Linked DNA regions of Homo sapiens: regions 1, 2, 3 and 4 are each linked to region 5. Evidence: promoter capture Hi-C in human tissues and cell types (Jung and others, 2019). All regions are on one chromosome and are shown on one strand. The core of a region is centred on a gene start or on the middle of the fragment in contact, and the rest is flanking DNA. Distances in the headings are between cores, read along the strand shown.

Region 1 (3,925 bases), core at 599-3,098, 300 kb before region 5:
AAACATGGTTTCTGTGTCTTAGAGCTCACAGTCTAGTGGGAGGGGCCAATAGTGAATCAAACAGTTGCACAAACTATGACAAGTGCTCTGAATAGAAGCGGCCCCTGCTGTGATTGAGAGTAAGAGGGCCCAGTTTGCATCGCTGGAGGGATGGACGTACCAAGGGAGCGACATGCTGAGTCCTAAGGTCTTTATGTTCAGTATCTGCAGTATGGCACTGCAGTGCGGAAGAGATGGAGTTGGTCTGGAGAGGTCAGCGGTGACCACATCACACGGGGCCTCGCACAGCAGGCTGAGGGGCTGGGATCTGTCTTGAGGGCACTGGAGAGCCACAAGAGTGCTGGGATTAGGGGAGGGCGGGGTCAGCTCTGGGTACAGAAAGGCCCTCAGGGGCCATATGGGGAGGGACTGGAATGGGGAGAAGAATCTGAGTGAGGGTCCATGTGGGAGAGGACAAGGCTGAGGAGGGTCCCGGGCCCCGGGGGTGGAGAGTCTATAGGAGGAGAACGAGCAGAATTTGGTGGACAGTAGAGCCCTGGGGTCAAAGAGGGTTGGGGATATGATCAGAATGTAGCTGACACTCAGGCAGCAGACACAATCAAAGAATTGGCCGGGCGCAGCAGCTCATGCCAGTAATCCCAGCACTTTGGGAGGACGAGGCAGGTGGATCACTTGAGCTCAGGAGTTCAAGACCAGCCTGGGCAACATGGCAAAATGCCCTCTCTAATAAAAATACAAAAAATTAGCCGGGTGTGGTGGCACCCACCTGTAGTCCCAGCTACTTGTGAGGCTGAGGTGGGAGGATCACCTGAGCTTGGGAAATCAAGGCTACAGTGAGCAGTGATTGTACCACTGCACTCCAGCCTGGGCAACAGGAGTAAGACCCTGTCTCAAAAATATATATATACACACAGCAAAAAAAGAGTCTGGAGCTCATAGGGACAGCTGGAGCTGGAGATCAAGATATAAATTGCTTAACAAGATTTATTTCTGCTCTCTAGGACAGGTGAGAAGAGCTCTTTGATATCCACAGGTGCTGAGTCATTTTTGCAGAGAGACATTAACCCCTTTTCCCTCTGCTGAGTTTGTCATCAGCTAAGAGAGAAATACAGGAGTAGATAGGAAGCCACGCTTTAGCTCAATTGATGAGCTTCCTGAGAGCCTGATTAGAGGCGTGCTCAATGTGCTGTCACAGCGGGCTCCTCATGCTACCCCGGATTTAGTCAGGTTTAACCCCCAGTCACAGTGTCGGACAACCCCAGGCCTTAATAGTGGGGCTCCCTCCTGGTCTGCACCATAGCCTCTCTGTGTTAGTCGTACTGCTCATGCAGACACTGACTTGCTTCTTCCCCCAGCTGGATGCCCTGGAGTTCCTCCATGAGAATGAGTATGTTCATGGAAATGTGACAGCTGAAAATATCTTTGTGGATCCAGAGGACCAGAGTCAGGTAAGAGCCAGCTCCTGCCCACTCTGGAAGATCTCTGGGCTCAGGTTCCCATCTGTCTCCAAATCTCTATTTATTTCATAGTGCTTATTACAGACAAAGGATTGCTGTCCATCATATATAAAGAGCTCCTTCAAATAAATAAGATAAGCAACTTAGTAGGAAAATGGACAAAGGATAAGAAAAGCAATTCTTAAAAAAAGAAATCCACAGGCTAGCTAAATAATATGAAAAGATATTCAACCTCCTTAGTAACTATAGAGATGTAACTTAAAACAAGATACTATTTTCACCCTTTGAACAAAATTAAGCATGATAATAATATTCATTGCTGATAAGGATATAAGGAAGTAGGAATTCTTCATATACTGTTGGAAGCATGAATTGGGAAACCCTTTTGGAAGGCAATAACAGTCACAGTTTTAAATGCACCTGTTTTTTGTCTTTGATTTTGTTTTGAGATGGAGTTTCACTCTTGTTGCCCAGGCTGGAGTGCAATGGCACGATCTCGGCTCATCACAACCTCCACCTCCTGGGTTCAAGCGATTCTCTGTCAGCCTCCTGAGTAGCTGGGATTACAGGCATGCGCCACTACGCCTAGCTAATTTTGTATTTTTAGTAGAGATGGGGTTTCTCCATGTTGGTCAGGCTGGCCTCGAACTCCTGACCTCAGGTGATCCGCCCGCCTTTGCCTCCCAAGGTGCTGGGATTACAGGCCTGAGCCACCGTGCCCGGCCAAAATGCACCTGTTTTTTGATCCACAAGTTCCTGTCTTAGGAAGGTGTCCTACCTATATATTCATAGGATTGTTCAAAGATAAGTGTACAAGATGTTCCTGGCAACACTGATTGTAATAGTGAAATGGGAAACACCTTAAGCGGGATACTGATTAAATAGTATTTTAAAGTAACTTCTAATTGCTCTTACAATTACAAATGACAGAAACCCAACTTTACATGCCTTAAGCCAAAAACCAAAAGGGACTGTGTGCAATGTATTAGTCCACAGAATGGAGCAATCCAGGACTGCACTGTCTCGGGCACGGCAGGATCCAGGAGCTCAAACCCTGTCATTGGGAAGCCGGCTCTCCCATCTCTGGACTCCTCATGCTTCTGCACTGCTCGTTGTCAGGCAGACTTATTCCTCATGGTGACAAAATTGCCACCAGCAAATTAGGCTTAAATCCCCAAAGCTTAGCAGCCCTGGCAGAAACAGACCTGAACTGCGTGGACTGAGAACTGGGGAAAAGCAATCCCAGATGAAAATCCTGGAACTAAGCATTAGGAATCTTCAGAGAAACAGAACTGGCAGGGTGTGTGTGTGTGTGCGTGTGTGTGTGTGTGTAGAGATTTATTATAAGGAATTGGCTTATTGATAATGGAAGCTAAGCAGTCCTGAGATTCTTCAGTTTGCAATCTGGAGACCTAGGAGAGCCAATGATGTAAGTTCCAATCCAAAGGCCAGCAGGCCTGAGACCCAAGAAGAGGGGTTGTTTCAGTTCAAGTCCAAAGGCAGGAAAAGACCAATGTTCTAGCTCAAGCAGTCAGGGAGGAGGAGCTTCTGGTTACTTAGCTTTTTATTCTATTCACATCTTGAGTTGATTGAATGAGACCCACCCACATTAAGGAGAATAATCTGCCTTGCTCAGTCTACAAACCCCAATGTTCATCTCATCCAGAACACCCTCATAGACACTCCCAGAATAGGGTTTGGCCAAATGTCTGGGCACCCCATGGCCCAGTCAAGTTGCCACATAAAAATGACCATCATGGCCAGGCCCAGTGGCTCACACCTGTAATTCCAGCAGTTTAGGAGGCCAAAGTGGAAGGATCGGATCGCTTGAGCCCAGGAGTTCGAGACCAGCCTGGGAAACATAGGGAACCTCATCTGTACAAAATAAAAAATAATAACCTATCCAGGTGTAGTGGCATACACATGTGGTTCCAGCTACTCAGGAGGCTGAGGTAGAAGGATCACCTGAGCCCAGGAGATGGAGACTGCAGTGAGCCATGATCATACCACTGCACTCCAACCTGCGTGACCCAGTGAGACCCTGTCTCAAAACTTAAAAAAAAAAAATTATTTTTTTAATGAACACCACAAACTGTAAACAGAAAAACAGGGAGCCGGGGAAGTGTATATAGGTCTTACATAGACAAAACCAACAGTTGTCCACTATCCATATGGTGGAATAAGATGCAGCCATTGAAAAGAAGACATGGACTGGGCACAGTGGCCAAGGCAGGAGGATCACTTGAACCCAGGGGTTCAAGACCAGCCTGGGCAACAGGGCAAAACCCCATCTTTACAAAAAATCGGCTGGGCATGGTGGTGCATGCCTGTAGTCCCAGCTACTCGGGAGGCTGAGGTGGGAGGATCACTGGAGCCTAGGAGGCTGCAGTGAGCCGTGATCGCGCCACTGCACTCCAGCCTGGGTGACAGAGTGAAACCCCATCTCAAAATAAATAAGTAGATATTTT
Region 2 (3,561 bases), core at 771-3,270, 340 kb before region 5:
CATATTTGGCAATCATTTACCCTGTGTGCTAGACCACATTGTGGGCACTGGGGACATGGACGTGTGTCAGACCTGTTTCCTGGCCTCATGGAGCTCATGGTCTGACGGAGAGACACGAGGGAGGTAGGACTGTGGCAAAGGGAGGTATCGGGGACTGTGTGGGCCAAGGGGGAGAGGGAGGCCATTGCCTTGAGGTCAGGGAAAGCTTCCTGGAGGGAAGGTCATTCAAGTTGGATCACTAAGGATGAACAGATATTTACCAGATAGAGAGATGGTTTCATGCATCATTCATTGATTCATTCATTCATTCAACTAACACCTCATGAGGCTTCCTGTGTTCCTGGCCTGTGCTGGGCCCTGGGGACCCAGAGATGAATCCCCATCAGTTCCTGTCCCCAAGGAGCATCTAGTCTGGTGGGGCTGACAGATATGGGCAGGAACATCCATATCTAGGTGGATCTGTGCTACAGTGGAGGCAGCAGGGGGTACTATGGAAGGCTAGAGCAGGAAAGTGCTGACTGCCTAGGGAAGGGTGGGGGAACTGAGCCGGGTCTTAAAGGCTGTGTGAGACACTACCACATGGAAAAGGGGCAGGGAATTCCAGCAGAGGGCCCAACCTGAGCAAAGGAAGCTGCTGGAAAGTACAGAATCAACTTTTACTACTAGGCCAAAGGGAGTATTTGTTATCTAGAGAAATGACAGAAGATGGTGCAAAGAGGGTAGAAGCCAGAACACACAGGAAGGCTGAAAAACCTGGAATTTATTCTATAAGCAATAGGGGTTCCCAGAAGAGTACAAACAGGAAAGAACAGCATGCGAGCTTTCCTTTAAAAAAGATCGCCTGGGAGCCACCATGGGACAGGGAGGCCAAAACAAAGGAAGGCCAGCTTTCCTGCCATGGGGGTGACCAATCAACACAGAGCGACCTTCAACTCGCCTCGGCCACAAAGGAAGGCCAATTTTTCTGCCTTTGGGTGTGACCGATTAGGACAGAGCGACCTTCAACTCACCTCAGCCATGGCCAACTGGGGTTCAGTAGCCTCTTTTAAGCTCCTCCTCCTTCCCCTCCGTGTTCCCGGCTGGCAGGGCTGTGGGAAGCACAAGGGAGCTGTGAGAAAGCCTCCCTTCCACCCATGGCTGACTCGCTGTCCATGCTGACGAGCCCCCAAAATGTCCAGGAGGAGGAGGACAAGTCCCAATGTGAGTCTCCCTGCAGGGGACAACAACAACTATATTTACTGAAGCCACCTCAGCCCCACATTTGCACTGTGCTTCAGAACCTACAGAACAGCTTCGCCACCAACAATGGTGGGTTAGCACCTAACAGTCAGTCAGCACATGTTTAGGAGATTTGGTGATGAAAGTCTATGGCCACAGTGGGAGCTTCTGTCTTGCTCACTGCTGTGTCTTAGCACCAGCATGGTGCCTAGTACGCAGTAGGTGCTTTAACAGTAGGTGTAAAAGTACCTACAGTTGTTGACAGAACGAAGGTGTCTAAAGAACCAATGGAACAATGCTTCTGGGATTTCTGATTATCATCTCTGGAATTTGAGTTCAGGTAAATTGGCCTCCGAAACTGTTACTCTTTTTTGGAGACACGGTCTTGCTCTGTTGCCAGGCTGGAGTACTACAGTGGCACAATCATGGGCCACTGCAGCTGTAATTTCCTGGGCTTAAGCAATCCTCCAACCTCAGCCTCTCAAGCAGCTGGGACTACAAGCATGTGCCACCACATCCAGCTAATCTTTTTCACTTTTTGTAGGGACAGGATCTCACTTGTTGCCCAAGTTGTTCTCAAACTCCTGACCTCAAGTAAGCCGCCCTCGTGGGCCACCCAAAGTGCTGGGATTACAGTTGTGAGCCACCGCACCTGGCCACTATCTCTACAACAGAAATATTTCAACTTTTGTTTTAACCGTGACCCACAGTAACACCACCAATATGTAGAATAGGCCAGGCACAGTAGCTCACGCCTGTAATCTCAGTACTTTGGGAGGCCGAGGTGGGCAGATTACTTGAGGTCAGGAGTTCAAGACCAGCCTGGCCAATATGCTGAAACCCCGTCTGTACTAAGAATACAAAAATTAGCTGGGCTTGGTGGGACGTGCCTGTGATCCCAGCTACTCGGAAGGCTGAGGCAAAGAATCACTTGAACCCGGGAGGCAGAGGCTGCAGTGAACCGAGATGGTGCCACCGCACTCCAGCCTGGGCAACACAGTGAGACTCCATCTCAAAAAAGAAAAAAAAAAAGTATCATGACTACTCAAACACACAGTGTAACTAAACAAAAGCTTCATGAAGCAATACTTACCCTGCAATGTAAGATGCACTGGGATGTTTTCTATTCTAGTCTCTTTTATTCTACTTCATTAAAAAATCATAGTCACTGCCCACCTAGTTATTTTCATGACCCATAATACGCAAAACTGTACCACAGACATTTTTACCCATTTGTATCCACTGCGTGGACCAAGTAGCACATATCTGCGGAGTGCTGAAAGCATTTCATATCACAAAGCAGCACGGATCACTTAACAATGACACAGGTCCACAAATTCTTCAAACTCCAAGGCCAGATGTGCTTTGAAATTCAACTTTTATTTTCAAAAGGTGATATGGCATATACATGGCATATTTCATTAAAATCCCAGTGCAGGGCTGGCCGCAGTGGCTCATGCCTGTAATCCCAGCACTTTGGGAGGCCAAGGCAGGCGGATCACGAGGTCAGGAGATCCAGACCATCCTGGCTAACGCGGTGAAACCCCGTCTCTACTAAAAATACAATAACAAAATTAGCCAGGCATGGTGGTGGGCGCCTGTAGTCCCAGTTACTCAGGAGGCTGAGGCGAGAGAATGGTGTGAACCCGGGAGGTGGAGCTTGCAGTGAGCCGAGATGGCGCCATGCACTCCAGCCTGGGCGACAGAGCGAGACTCCGTCTCAAAAACAAAAACAAAAACAAAACAAAACAAAGTCCCAGCGCAGTGTGGATCAGGCTGCATTTCATAATTGAACACTTTACCCTAGAGAAAAGTATCATCGTTCATTCTAGGTAGAATAATTTAAAGTTATATTTAAAAAATACCCTGTAGTAGTTCAGGTAAGGCACGGACACTAAATTTATGAAAAAAAATTTGTTGTTCTGAGTTGTCCAGATTTTTGAGACTACAAATATGGGAATATGGTAGACCTACAATAAATGCTAATTCTACTGAACAATGAGTTTTTCTACATGTCAGAGGTTAAGCCTCAACCTACGAGTATAACTCAGTTGACAGATATTTGGCCCATAATGTTTGTTGGCAGACAGAATGTTTTGAAAGAAAATTCAAGCATGGCTCACTAGTCTCAAACTTGAAAATTGGGAAATTTCACCTAAAAATTATGTTTCCAACTTCTGAAACATCCTAGGATTTGGCAACATTGGGTCTACATCCCACGAAGTTAGTTCACTGGTGCCCATTTAAAGCTCCCCCACCAGTGCTAGGCAAGTGGGGGATGCTTATAATCCCAGCACTTTGGGAGGCTGAAAGGTGTTCGAGACCAGCCTGGGCAACGTAACA
Region 3 (3,740 bases), core at 33-2,532, 360 kb after region 5:
ATTCTCAAAGTGTGGCTCAGGGACTCCTGGGGGCTCTTGAAACACTTTTGGGGGTCCATGAGGTGAACATTATTTTCATAATACTACTAAGATATTATTTGCCTTTCACTTTCATTTCCTCTTTGAATATAGTGATGTTTGCCAGAAGCTACAAGACATGAGCTATTTTGACACACTCAGTGCAGAAGCAGATATGAGAATCCAGCTGTCTTCTATGAAGCCAGACATTAGAGAGATTTGCAAAAATGTAAAATGATGCCATTCTTCTCCCCAAATTTTTTCTTTTTTTTCCTTTTTTTTTTTGAGACGGAGTCTTGCTCTGTTGTCTAGGCTGGAGTGCAGTGGCAAAATCTCGGCTCATTGCAACCTCTGCCTCCTGGGTTCCAACGATTCTCCTGCCTCAGGCTCCCGAGTAGCTGGGATTACAGGTGTGTGCCACCACGCCCGGCTAATTTTTTTTTTTTTTGACTTTTAGTAGAGACGGGGTTTCATCATGTTGGCCAAGCTAGTCTCGAACTCCTGACCTCGTGATCCACCCGCCTTGGCCTCCCAAAGTGCTGGGATTACAGGCGTCAGCCACCGCGCCCAGCGCCAAAATTTCTTTTGGAGTAGAAATTATAGTTATTTTAAATAAAAATGTTATTTTGACACATAATGAATTTTTAAACAATGACTATTTTAGAAATTTATTTTAATATTGATAGATACAACTCACATAAACATACAACCCATATAAATGTAACTCATAAATTATTGGAGTCCTTAATAATTCTTAAGAGACCGGAAAGTATGAGAACGGATGACCTAAGTAAATCTTTGAGTTTTTAATTCTTGTCTGCAGCCCTAGTAGGCTTCTGAGCTCTCTTAAGGCAACGTCCCTGTCTGCCTTGTTGGACGCATATTTAAGGTTTGGTTTCTAGTAGGCGATCTTTAAGTAAATGCGAAAGGTTTGAAGGCTAGAAGGAATGAATGAGACGATTCTCCCACTTCCTACCCTCTTCTTCCTTACATGAAGTGGAAGCAAAGTGCATGTGCCAGAGAAAGGCCTTGTCTTAGAGCCCCGCCTGAAGCGTGGCATCGTGGGTGTCGGGGTGGGGTGCGGTGGGGAAGGGAGTGGCGCGTGAGCAGTCAGAGGATGTGCACACGTGCGTGCGTGTGGGGAGAGAGCAGGGAGTTGGGGAGGGCGAAGTGGTTACAGTGTTTGCTACAGCTGTAGGGAAAGAGTGAGGGGGCGCGGCGGCGCATGCGCAGAGAATCGGCGGGAAAGGCCGCGCGCCAGGCAGATCGAGGGGTGTCGCCCAAACCGATCTGTCGACGCCTGAAGGGGCCTGAGGAGATTGCTAGGCTTCTCAGCTGGGGCTTCTTCACCCTCATTTTTGTCCGACTGGCTGGACTGAAGAACCTGGCAGAAGCCTTGGGGCTAGGGTGAGGGTCACGGCCCAGGGAGCCCTAAAATGTTCCCACATCTGGGGTGTGTGGGGCTGGGCGCCATTTTCGAGGCCCGGGCCCACTGGGCTCCACTGACGGGTGACAGGTGACTGGCTGGGAGCCTCCTGGTTGCCCTGGGCTCTGTGGAGCTGAGGGATCAAAGGGGTCCCTCCTTTACCCCCCACGTAGGACAGAGGAAACTGTCTTCGGCTCTCCTCACTCATCCAGTCCGAGTTTGAGCCAATTCCTTGACAGGATTCGGCCATCAGTCCCTGCCTTTGGGGAAAGCCATCAGTGTCAAGTGCCCGAGTGGCAGAAACCCGGGTCTAGCCCCATCACTGGTCTGTTAGGGCAGTTATTTTCTGCTTTTTGCAGAAATGGGACACCAGCTCCTTATTTTCCTTTTCTGGAGGTTATAGTTCCAGGGAAGGAGGTAATGTGAGGGGAATGGGCATTTCTGGGGGATCCTGAGCACTCCCCACAGGGCATGAGCCTAGGAGTTGCTTGGGATGACGGTGTAGGGGCACCATGGAGGGTTGCACCCATATGGGAAGAGGAGTCCGCCTGGGGCTCAAGGGGCTTTATGGATGTTGGAAGTGGCCAGCTGGCCAAAACTCAGTTCTCTCCCTTCCGTAAAGCTTGCTTTTAAGGACAACTGTTCTAGAATGTGTTTAAGAAACATGAATCTATTATTTTTTATTTATTTATTTATTTGAGATGGAGTCCCACTCTGTCACCCAGGCTGGAGTGCAGTGGCACGATCTCAGCTCACTGCAACCTCTGCTTCCCAGGTTCAAGCGATTCTCCTGCCTCAGCCTCCCAAGTAGCTGGGACTATAGGCGTGCGCCACCACCCCCAGCTAATTTTTTGTATTTTTAGTAGAAACGGGGTTTCACTGTGTTGGCCTGGCTGGTCTCGAGCTCCTGACCTCAGCCGATCCACCCGCCTCAGCTTCCTAAAGTGCTGAGATTACAGGTGTGAACCCCCGTGCCCAGCCTATTATTATTATTTTTAAGAGACAGGGTCTCTCTCTGTCTCCCAGGCTGGAGTCCAGTGGCATGATCACCTCTCACTACAGCCTCGAACTTCTGGGCTCAAGCAATCCTTCCACCTCAGCCTTTCAAAGAGCTGGGATTACAGGCTGAGCCACTGGAGGCTTGGTTTTCACTTATTTTGGGTGTATACCCAGAAGTGGAATTGCTGGATCATATGGTAATTCTATTTTTAAGTTTTTGAGGAACCACCATAGTGTTTTCCATGGTGGTTGCACCATTTTACATTCTGACCAGCAAGGCACAAGGATTCCAATTTCTCCACATCCTCACCAACACTTCTTATTTTCTGCCTTTTTATATTAGCCATCCTAATGGATGCGAGGTATTATCTCATTGTAGTTTTCATTTGCATTTCCTTAATGATTAGTGACGTTGAACATCTTTTCATGTACTTCTTGGAGATTGGTATATCTTCCTTGGAGAAATGTCTATTTAAGTCTTTTGCCCATTTTTGAATTGTGTTGTTTGTTTCTTTGTTGTTGAGTTTTACGAGTTCTCTATATATTCTGAATATTAATCTCTTATTATACATATGATTTTCAGATATTTCCTCCCATTCTGTGGGTTATCTTTTCACCCCTTTGATAGTGTCTCTTGATGCACAAATTTAAAACATTTTAATGAAATCCTGTTTGTTTCTTCTTTTGTTGCTTTTGCCTTTGGTATCATATCCAAGAATTCATTGCAGATCCACTATCATGAAGCTTTTGTCGTATGTTTTATTCTAAGAATTTTATAATTTTAAGTGTTACATTTAGGTCTTTGATTTATTTTGTGTATTTGTATGTGGTGTTAGGTAAGAGTCCATCTTTACTCTTTTGCCTGTACATAATCCAGTTTTCCCAGCACCATTTGTTGAAAAGACTGTCCTTTACTCATTGAGTAGTCTTGGCACCCTTGTAAAAAATCATTTTTCCATACATTGTTTCTGGGCCCTCTATTCTGTTCCCTTGGTCTGTATCTTTATGTGAGTAACACACTATTTTGATTACTATAGCTTTGTAATATGTTTTGAAATCAGGAAATGTGAGTACACCAGCGTTTTTCTTCTTTTTCAAGATTATTTTGGCTGTTCAGGGTCCCTTGAGATTTCATGTTAGTTTTAGGACGTGTTTTTCTATTTCTGCAAAAAAAAAAAAAAAAAAAAAAAAAAAAAAAAAAAAAAAAAAAAAGCTACTAATTCTGTAGATTGCTTTGGGTAATACTGACATCTTAACAGTGTTGTCTTCCAACCCATGAACATGGGATATTTTTCCA
Region 4 (3,868 bases), core at 1,307-3,806, 340 kb after region 5:
CATTGGCTAGGACTGTGTCACATGGCCACTTCTAACTGCAAGGGAGGCTGGGAAAGTGAGTATTTAGCTTTTTCAGCTTCTAAGTGGAGGCAGGCAAGAGACAACAGTACCTGATATATTCCATAAATGTTAGCAATTTGTATTGTTCTTTCTTCTCTCTCTCTAGGGTACGAGCCCCCCCAAGCCCTCTCACCCCTGCCCCCACCTACCCCATCGCCCCCAGCCTGGCAGGCTCGGGGCCTGGGCACCGCCCGGTTGCAGCTGGTAGAGTTCTCAGCCTTCGTGGAACCGCCAGATGCAGTTGATTCTGTGAGTGAAATTTTGGTACAGTCGCTGAGGGATTTTGAAATATAGAGGGTGACAGGAAGGGAATGTATAAAGTCATGGTTTTAAAACTTTAGCATGTATCAGAATCATCTGAAGGGCTTCTTAAAACAGAGATTGCTTTCTGATTTGCTAGATGTGATGTGGGGCTTGAGAATTTGCATTTCTAATAAGCTACCAGGTGCGTTGATGCAGCTGGTCTGGGGACCGTACTTTGAGAACTACTAGCATAAAGGAACTGGAAGGTCATAGGGTGACAAGTTGGGAAGGTCAGAAAAGCTCCCCAGGACATCATTCATTCATTTATCAAACGTGTTTGAGTTTCTACTGTTCACTAGGCTTTGTGATGCATACTAGGAACTTGGAAAAGATTTTATTTCTGTGCTTGAGCTTCTCCTGGGCTAGGATGGAGTGGGCCGACTGTTAGAAGAAACAGCTCCTAACTCTTAGGGACTGAATGCCAGATAAGTTGCATGTAACATTTCAATGTAGGTTCAGCAGGAGCCTTGGACTCAAGTGATTTGGGGATCCAGGCTCCTTCCATTTTGTGGCTCTGCCATTTTCTAAGGCTTCAGAATCTGCTGATGGAGTCTCTGCATCTGGCCAGCAGATGGAGGAAGGGAGAGAGTCAAGATTGTGCAGGAGGTTTTAGGAATCTGACTTGGATGTGTCGACTCTCAGGCCTGGTCACATCCCATTGGCCAGAACTTAGTCATGTGGTCACACCTAACTGCAAAGCGGCCTGGGAAATGTAGTTTCACACTGTGTAAAGGAACCAGGATTTGTGAACACGTAGCAGTCTCTGCCACACCATATAAACATCAATCAAAACATCAACCACAAGACCTCTGTGGATTCCCATTCATTCACTCTTCCATCCATTGACCATTTATGAGCACCTGTTCTATATAGGACCAGGCCTAGGGGGTGTGAGCTTTGCCCTGGGGCTGCTGGGGAGCTATGGGAGGGCCATGACCAGGGGAGGGTCAGGGGCAGGTCTGGAGCCACATGAGGGATGAACTGGAGAGGCGAGGTTGGAGGCTGGGGTGAGGGTGGGAGGCCTGAGGTGAGGCTGAGGCAGTGAGGATGGAGTTGGGGGAGTTGTGGCAGGGAGTTGGGGACTGTAGGACTGCAGGGCTGCAGGGGACTGGGTGCAGAAGCAGGAGTGGGGACGATGGGTGGCAGTCAGGCCCAGTGCTGGGTGGACTGTGTGGAACAGCTGGCCAGAGCTGTGGGGATGGTGACGGCATTTGGTGGGCTCAGGCAGCACAGGCTGGAGATCCAGCTCACCTCCGACTTCTCACCCACGGCCAACCCTCCTCAGTACCAGAGGCACCTGTTCGTGCACATCAGCCAGCACTGCCCCAGCCCCGGAGCGCCGCCGCTCGAGAGTGTGGACGTCCGGCAGATCTACGACAAATTCCCTGAGAAAAAGGGTGGCCTCCGAGAGCTATATGATCGTGGCCCCCCCCATGCCTTCTTCCTGGTCAAGTTCTGGGTGAGTTCTCACAGCAAAATCAAAAGTGCTCACAAATCCTGTGGTGTCCCAGCAAAGGCCTCTGGCCCTGAGAGAATCTGTCGCGGGCCCTACCAGGTCAGCCTGGGACTTACCAGTCAGTCCTCATGGCTTGGAGTGTCAGCCCCCTTTGCAACAAGGAACACCGAGGAGGCCAGCCCCCAGGGTGGGTTGGAGGTGTCTGGGCCTCCCTGGATCCCACTAGACATTGCCACATGTAACTAATACGGTGAGTTACCTGGCCATGTAGCTAATAGGGTCCTGGGCATGGGCTTGCCATGTTCCAGGCTTCCCTGTGCCCCACCTGACTGCACCAAGCCGTGCTGCTAAGGAAAGACCCCTCCCCGTAGCCAGTGGACTTGTGGAGACTGGTTTCTAAAGAGGGGACTGATGCTTTGCATCAGTTTCACCAGACCTTGTTGCTAGAGAATGTCTGGCTTTGAGGAAGTGATGAAAAGAGCCATGGAGTGGCTTTGCCAAGTCCTGTATTCATTTATTTGTTTATTTATTTATTTTTGAGACATAGTCTCACTGTCACCCAGGCTGGAGTGCAGTGGCTGTATCTTGGCTCACGGCAACCTCCGCCTCCTGGATTCAAGCGATTCTCCTGCCTCAGCCTCCCCAGTAGATTGGACTACAGGCACCCGCCACCACATCTGGCTAATTTTTGTATATTTAGTACAGACGGGGTTTCACCATGTTGGCCAGGCTGGTCTTGAACTCCTGGCCTCAAATGATCTGCCCACCTTGGCCTCCCAAAGTGCTGGGATTACAGGTGTGAGCCACCGCACCCGTCCAAGTCCTGTATTTATGTAGCAATCATTTATTGAGCACTTCCTATATAGACGCCTGGTGTCAGCTGCTATTTATATGATTGGGACTAAGAGGGCCCATCTTGCGTGTTTCTTAGGGCTACTTGGTTTGGTGTCCAGTATGATGACTAACACTACAGGGGTTCAATAAATGTGTTTTATTTTCTTTTATTGTTTTTTTTTTTTTTTTTTTTGAGATGGAATTTTGCTCTTGTTGCCCAGGCTGGAGTGCAATGGTGCGATCTCGGCTCACTGCAACCTCTGCCTCCTGGGTTCAAGCGATTCTCCAGCCTCAGCCTCCCAAGTAGCTGGGATTACAGGCATGCACGACCATGCCCAGCTAATTTTTGTATTTTTAGTAGAGACGGAGTTTCGTCATGTTGGCCAGGCTGATCTTGAACTCCTGACCTCATGTGATCCGCTCACCTTGGCCTCTCCAAGTGCTGGGATTACAGGCATGAGCCACTGCACCTGGCCTAATTTTTGTATTTTTAGTAGAGACAGGGTTTTACCATGTTGGCCAGTCTGGTCTCGAACTCCTGACCTCAAGTGATCCACCCACCTTGGCCTCCCAAAGTGCTGGGATTACAAGTGTGAGCCACAGTGCCTGGCCTGGGCTCAATAAATGTTGCCTGGATGTTTAGGGGGTGCTAGTTCTTATAGTAACAAAGGTGGTGGAGGGATCTAGTCTCTGAGAAGAAAGCCTGGCTAGGTGTGGTGGTTCACTCCTATCTTCCCAGCACTTTGGGAAGCTGAGGCGAGAGTTTCGCTTGTGTTCAAGAGTTTGACACCAGCCTGGGCAACACAGTGAGACCTCAACTCTACAAAAAATGAAAAAAATTAGCTGGGTGTGGTGGTGCGCACCTGTGGTCCTAGCTTCTGTGGAGGCTGAGGCAGGAGGATCACTTAAGCCTGGGAGGTGGAGGCTGCAGTGAGCCAAGATTGTGCCACTGCCCTCCAGCCTGGGTGACAGAATGAGACCCTGCCGAAAGAAAGAAAGGAAGAAAGGAAGAAGGAAAGAAAGGAAAGAAAAGAAAGAAGGAAAGAAAGAAGGAAGGAAGGAAGGAAAGGAAGGAAAGGCCTGCTGAGGGCCTGAACTTTACTGTTCTTGCTGGGAGTGTTGTTGTTCTGGAGCTTGCTGTTCACGGTTCTGGAGCTTTCTGCCATGTGAAGCAGAAGCCTGAAACTGCTCTGGGGATGTGCAGCTGAGGGCTTA
Region 5 (3,985 bases), core at 184-2,683:
TCGATCCCCAGTCCTCCGTCTCCTTTTACCCGGCCAGATTCTCCACCATTTGGCCGCTCGCATTCTACGCAGCTGTTCGGAACCCGGGTTCCTGGGCTCCTCACTCAGCTCATTGTCTCTTAGTCTCCTGTCTCTTCGAGGAACAAGGCTCAGCTGGGAGGTCGCAGCCCACCCCAGGTGCATTATAACGTCAGGCGCGTAGGGTGCCGGAGCAAATCTCAGCCCTTTCACGCCAGGGAGGGAGGAGGGATGTTTGGGGGTCAGGACGGCCCGCCAAAACCACCCACGGAAGGTGCATGGATTGAGTTGGCAAGAAAGGCGCCACAGCGGGTTGGATTCAAGGTAGACAGTGGGACTTCCGTGAGGGAGAAGCAGCATGGCTAATAGAGAAAGGTATATTAGAGACCCAGCCTCGACTGAGAGGTCGAAATAGGTACAGAGAAGCAGAGACTGAAACACGGAACTCTTGTTTATTCGGCTCTGGGCGTCAGTGTTCTTCGCCCAGCCTGGTCCCGTGTGCTTCTAGGTCCAACCTAGTCGCAGCCCGGGGAGGGACTGGGGAAGACGGTTTCAGGGGCTGGAGTTAGGGGAGAAGAAATGTGGAGTAGAAGCTCCAACATACAGATAGGCAAACTGAAGCCGAGGAGGGGACGAGCCGTGCCCGAGGTCACCCAGCGAGCTGGGCACTGCGCTAGCCCCCTCGCTGCAGGCCGGAATCCTGGGAACCGAGCCGGGCTTCCGCCTCGCGCCACCGGCGGCGCCCATAGCTGTAGGGGTCCTGGGGCTCGTGGCTGGCCTTCCCCGAGGGCTCCTTGGTGGAGACAGCGAATCCAGTATATGATCTCCGCCAGGCGGTGGGTCCGGCATACGCCCAGGTAGCAGACGTGCCCGCGGTGCTGGGGGACCTGGTGCTGGCCTCGCCTGGAGAGGGAGCGTGGGAGAAAACCGGGTTCAAACCGAATTGAGAGATGGAGCGTGATGGAGGTGGGCACCCAAGCACTCCAAGACCAGCGGGGAGGCTTACAGATCACCTGCCCGTTCCGCGGCCGGGAGAGGGCGCTCGCCCTTTACGGTCTCCCTCCCGCCCTGTCCCTGCTGCCACCCGGGTTTCTCACCTGGCTGCAGTGTCCAGGTCCCCTTGGGCGGAGAAGGCGAGGAGCAACAGCAGGATGAGGATGTGGATAGTCATCGTGGGCAGGGCGGGTCAGGATCCGTGGCCCGTAGTTGCGGCCACCCCGCCCCGTTCCCGCACCGGGCTGATCGCCTCTGGGTGCAGCTCTGGAGCCAGGTACCAGGGCCAGTCCCCACTTCCCAGGCGGGGAACACTGAGGCCAAAAGTCTGTGGGAAGAGGCCGCACCACACCAGAGGGGCAGGATTCAAACCCGGGTCCCCGCTTCCCGCACCGCGGCTCCAGAGACCTCACTGGGTGTGTGGGGTCACACCAGCTGCTGTCTATCCCCCTAGGAGGTCTGTGGAGACTCGCCCCCTTCAAAGCGTGGGGAAATGGGGCGGGGCCAATGACACCCGCAGGTAGCTAAGCAGCGGGATTCCAAGAAAAGGGGTGGCGGCGGGGAAGCGCTGGCTCTGGTTGTAGATGCGACCTCACCCTCACCCTGTCGGGAAGCCGGTTAGTAGACAGTTGGGACCCTGGAACCTCGGGGGCCAGGCAATGCAGGGCAAGTGCACATGCGGCCCCCTGGAGGGCGTGGAGCGAGGGAGACCCCAAACACACTGAGGAGCGCCCCTCCGGAAGAGAAAAGGCCGAGGTGTCAGGCACTCGCCGGTGAGGGCTCCAGTTGCACTGAAGCAGGTGTAGCCAGGGCTGTTCAACGAGGAGGGTGTCCTGGGTCAACCAGGTCGAGTGCACAGTATTGTGGGGGACCCAGGACCCCGTGGCCAGGCCCTGAGGGTGGAAGGGTGGGTGCAGACGCCATGTCTGCAGCAGAGGCAGAGGGACCTCGTCTTCACCTCTGTAAGATGGGTAGGCCCTGCCACCTTACAGCTGCAACTCCCACTGACCTCCATGGAGGGCAAGTCCCCAGCCCTAAGCCCCAAGCCATTCTAGGGGAGGAAGCAGGGCCACTCCCCCATGAGAAATTCTATCCTTGCAAACATACACCCCCAACCCACTCAGTGTCCCCAGCTGCAGAGGGCTGGGCACAGTTGGGCCTTGAAGGGACCCGAACAGGAAAAAACAGCCAGAGAGGAACAATGTCGAGTGTTGGGGGGAGGTGGGGAGACTGTTCTGGGAAACTTGAGGGCTGGCTGTGCTGGAAAGCCACCCCCATCCCCTACTAGGCAGGACACGGGTACCGCAGAGGGGAGGGGCGCAGACCCAGGAGAGGGATGAAAAGAGTTGGACAAAGACCCTGAGAGACAGCTGTGGAGGACAGGGACCCCGAGAAGGAACCAAGGAAGGGGAGCAAGAGGCCTAGAGACGGGGGACGGGAGACGCAGATCCACAGAATGGCAGCCACCAGCAGGTGCCAAGGCCGGTCCCCCCACTGCTGAGGCTGGCACTGCAGTACCTGCGAAAGGAACCCCAAACCTCCTTTGCCCCCAGGAAACAAAGCCAGACCCCAGCTGAGGATTTATTGGCGTAAATGCAACCATATAAAAACATAAGTTATGAAAAACACAGTCACGATGTGCCCTCCCCATCCCCCCAGCCCAGGCCCCTAAAACCCCCTTCTGCGGGAGGGAGGGAGAGGAAGGGGGAGCCCCGAAACCGCCTAGGAACGCTCAGCCCCTGGGCTCGTGCAGGGCGGGAGAGCCGGGCCTCAGCGCATCCGGTAGTCGGTGGAGCAGGACAGCTCGCACAGCTGGCCCTTGAAGTCCAGGTCGATGGTGAAGTCCAGGTCCCGCTGCAGGGAGAGGTGGGGCATGAGGGCGGAACCCACCAGGAGGTGGTGGCGGGGGGCGGGTGCAGGCAGGCTATGCGACGATGAGCCGGGCTCCAGCTTCCTGCCCATCTCCACGCTGCAGACCCCAACTGCTGGTCCCACCCTAGCAGCTGCCCTGACCCTGCCAAGGGACAGCACCACATGGACACCCCCAAGCCCACTAGACTCACTCAGGAGTAGAGCCCAGCTGCTGTCCCTTGCCCTTGGATTTCTCCATCAGGATGATTCCCATCAGCAATGCAGTGATTGCTTCTTTCATAAAAAAGAAAACCTCTCCCAAGCCCACTTCCTCCTCAGGCAAACGTTCCAGTGAAACACAATGGTCCAGCCTGCTGTCTCCACTTCCTCTCCTCCCCCCATACCCTCCAGCACATGAAGATGAGACAAAGTCACCAACGCCCGAGGACTCCTCCTCCCTCTCCAGTATCCGTTTCCCAGCTAGTGCCGTGGTCCCGGGGGCTGCATGAGTCTTTGTAGGGGGTGGTCCTGTGGCTGCAGGACATTTACCAGCCCCCTGGCCCCTACCTACCAGATGCCAGGACCACCCCTTCTCCGGAGTGACAACCACAAATGTTTCCACAGACGGTGGCAAACGTCCTGGGGGGGGGCGGGGAGCGGAGGGGGCAGTAAAACTGCCCAGTTGACAACTGCTGCTGTCACAGGCTCGTGGGTGTCCCAGGGTCCACATTCCATGACTACCCTGAGTGCCACCCACCCTCGCACCCATCGGCCGGGACCCACTTTTCCAACCCAGACCACTCCCGGCGACTCCAGGCTCCAAGCCTTCCATCCTCCTGCCTGCTCAGACCCACCACACTGGATCTCTGCCCAGACCCTGTCTCCGAGAAGCCCCCCCAGCTCCCCCGGAAGCCCCCTGATCTCAGGTGATGGCAGCTCCTGCCAAGTGCTCAGGAGGAAAAAGAAAGGGGAGCAGAAAACAAAAAGCTGCCTTTCTCCTCTCATGCCTCCCAGCTGGGCTAGAAAACCCCGTGCACTCTACTGGGGGCTGCCTCTTGCCCTGGAGCCCACCTACACCAACACCTGTCTGCCCTGCTCCCAGCCTGACAGAGGTCACCTCCAA

Evidence for each region. The method cuts DNA at HindIII sites, captures the fragments that hold promoters and counts their contacts. A contact is called where the count stands out against the background at its distance.
Region 1: a contact is called between a fragment that was not itself captured here and the fragment with the promoter of ADM5 in region 5, in 1 of the 25 tissues and cell types used here (pancreas).
Region 2: a contact is called between a fragment that was not itself captured here and the fragment with the promoter of ADM5 in region 5, in 1 of the 25 tissues and cell types used here (hippocampus).
Region 3: the fragment with the promoter of SLC6A16 here is called in contact with the fragment with the promoter of ADM5 in region 5 in 1 of the 25 tissues and cell types used here (stomach).
Region 4: a fragment that was not itself captured here is called in contact with the fragment with the promoter of ADM5 in region 5 in 1 of the 25 tissues and cell types used here (stomach).

The regions. Positions count from the first base shown.
Region 1 is chr19:49,990,383-49,994,307 of GRCh38, reverse strand. VRK3 (VRK serine/threonine kinase 3) reads left to right here. Exons shown (of 15, transcript NM_016440.4): 10 at 1,356-1,448. Among named protein-coding and RNA genes, the nearest start is that of SIGLEC16, 23 kb to the right of the region's middle. RefSeq lists an enhancer at 1-44. The HindIII fragment of the contact is 7,768 bases long and covers 1-3,925 here.
Region 2 is chr19:50,028,541-50,032,101 of GRCh38, reverse strand. ZNF473 (zinc finger protein 473) reads right to left here. Exons shown (of 5, transcript NM_015428.4): 2 at 1,011-1,210. The coding sequence starts at 1,019. Among named protein-coding and RNA genes, the nearest start is that of ZNF473, 4.3 kb to the right of the region's middle. The HindIII fragment of the contact is 4,342 bases long and covers 1-3,561 here.
Region 3 is chr19:49,322,733-49,326,472 of GRCh38, reverse strand. It overlaps SLC6A16 (solute carrier family 6 member 16), which reads left to right and starts at 1,282. Exons shown (of 12, transcript NM_014037.3): 1 at 1,282-1,425. RefSeq lists an enhancer at 1-118. The HindIII fragment of the contact is 19,669 bases long and covers 1-2,627 here.
Region 4 is chr19:49,345,144-49,349,011 of GRCh38, reverse strand. It overlaps TEAD2 (TEA domain transcription factor 2), which reads left to right. Exons shown (of 13, transcript NM_001256660.2): 9 at 167-309; 10 at 1,649-1,822. Among named protein-coding and RNA genes, the nearest start is that of CD37, 12 kb to the right of the region's middle. The HindIII fragment of the contact is 5,882 bases long and covers 1-3,868 here.
Region 5 is chr19:49,687,042-49,691,026 of GRCh38, reverse strand. It overlaps ADM5 (adrenomedullin 5 (putative)), which reads right to left and starts at 1,433. Exons shown (of 2, transcript NM_001101340.2): 1 at 1,116-1,433; 2 at 452-921. The coding sequence starts at 1,189. The coding sequence ends at 534. It overlaps PRMT1 (protein arginine methyltransferase 1), which reads right to left. Exons shown (of 11, transcript NM_001536.6): 11 at 2,580-2,865. The coding sequence ends at 2,782. It also overlaps a transcript of CPT1C not described here. RefSeq lists a silencer at 974-1,043 and enhancers at 2,352-3,092, 3,093-3,834. The HindIII fragment of the contact is 11,781 bases long and covers 1-2,743 here.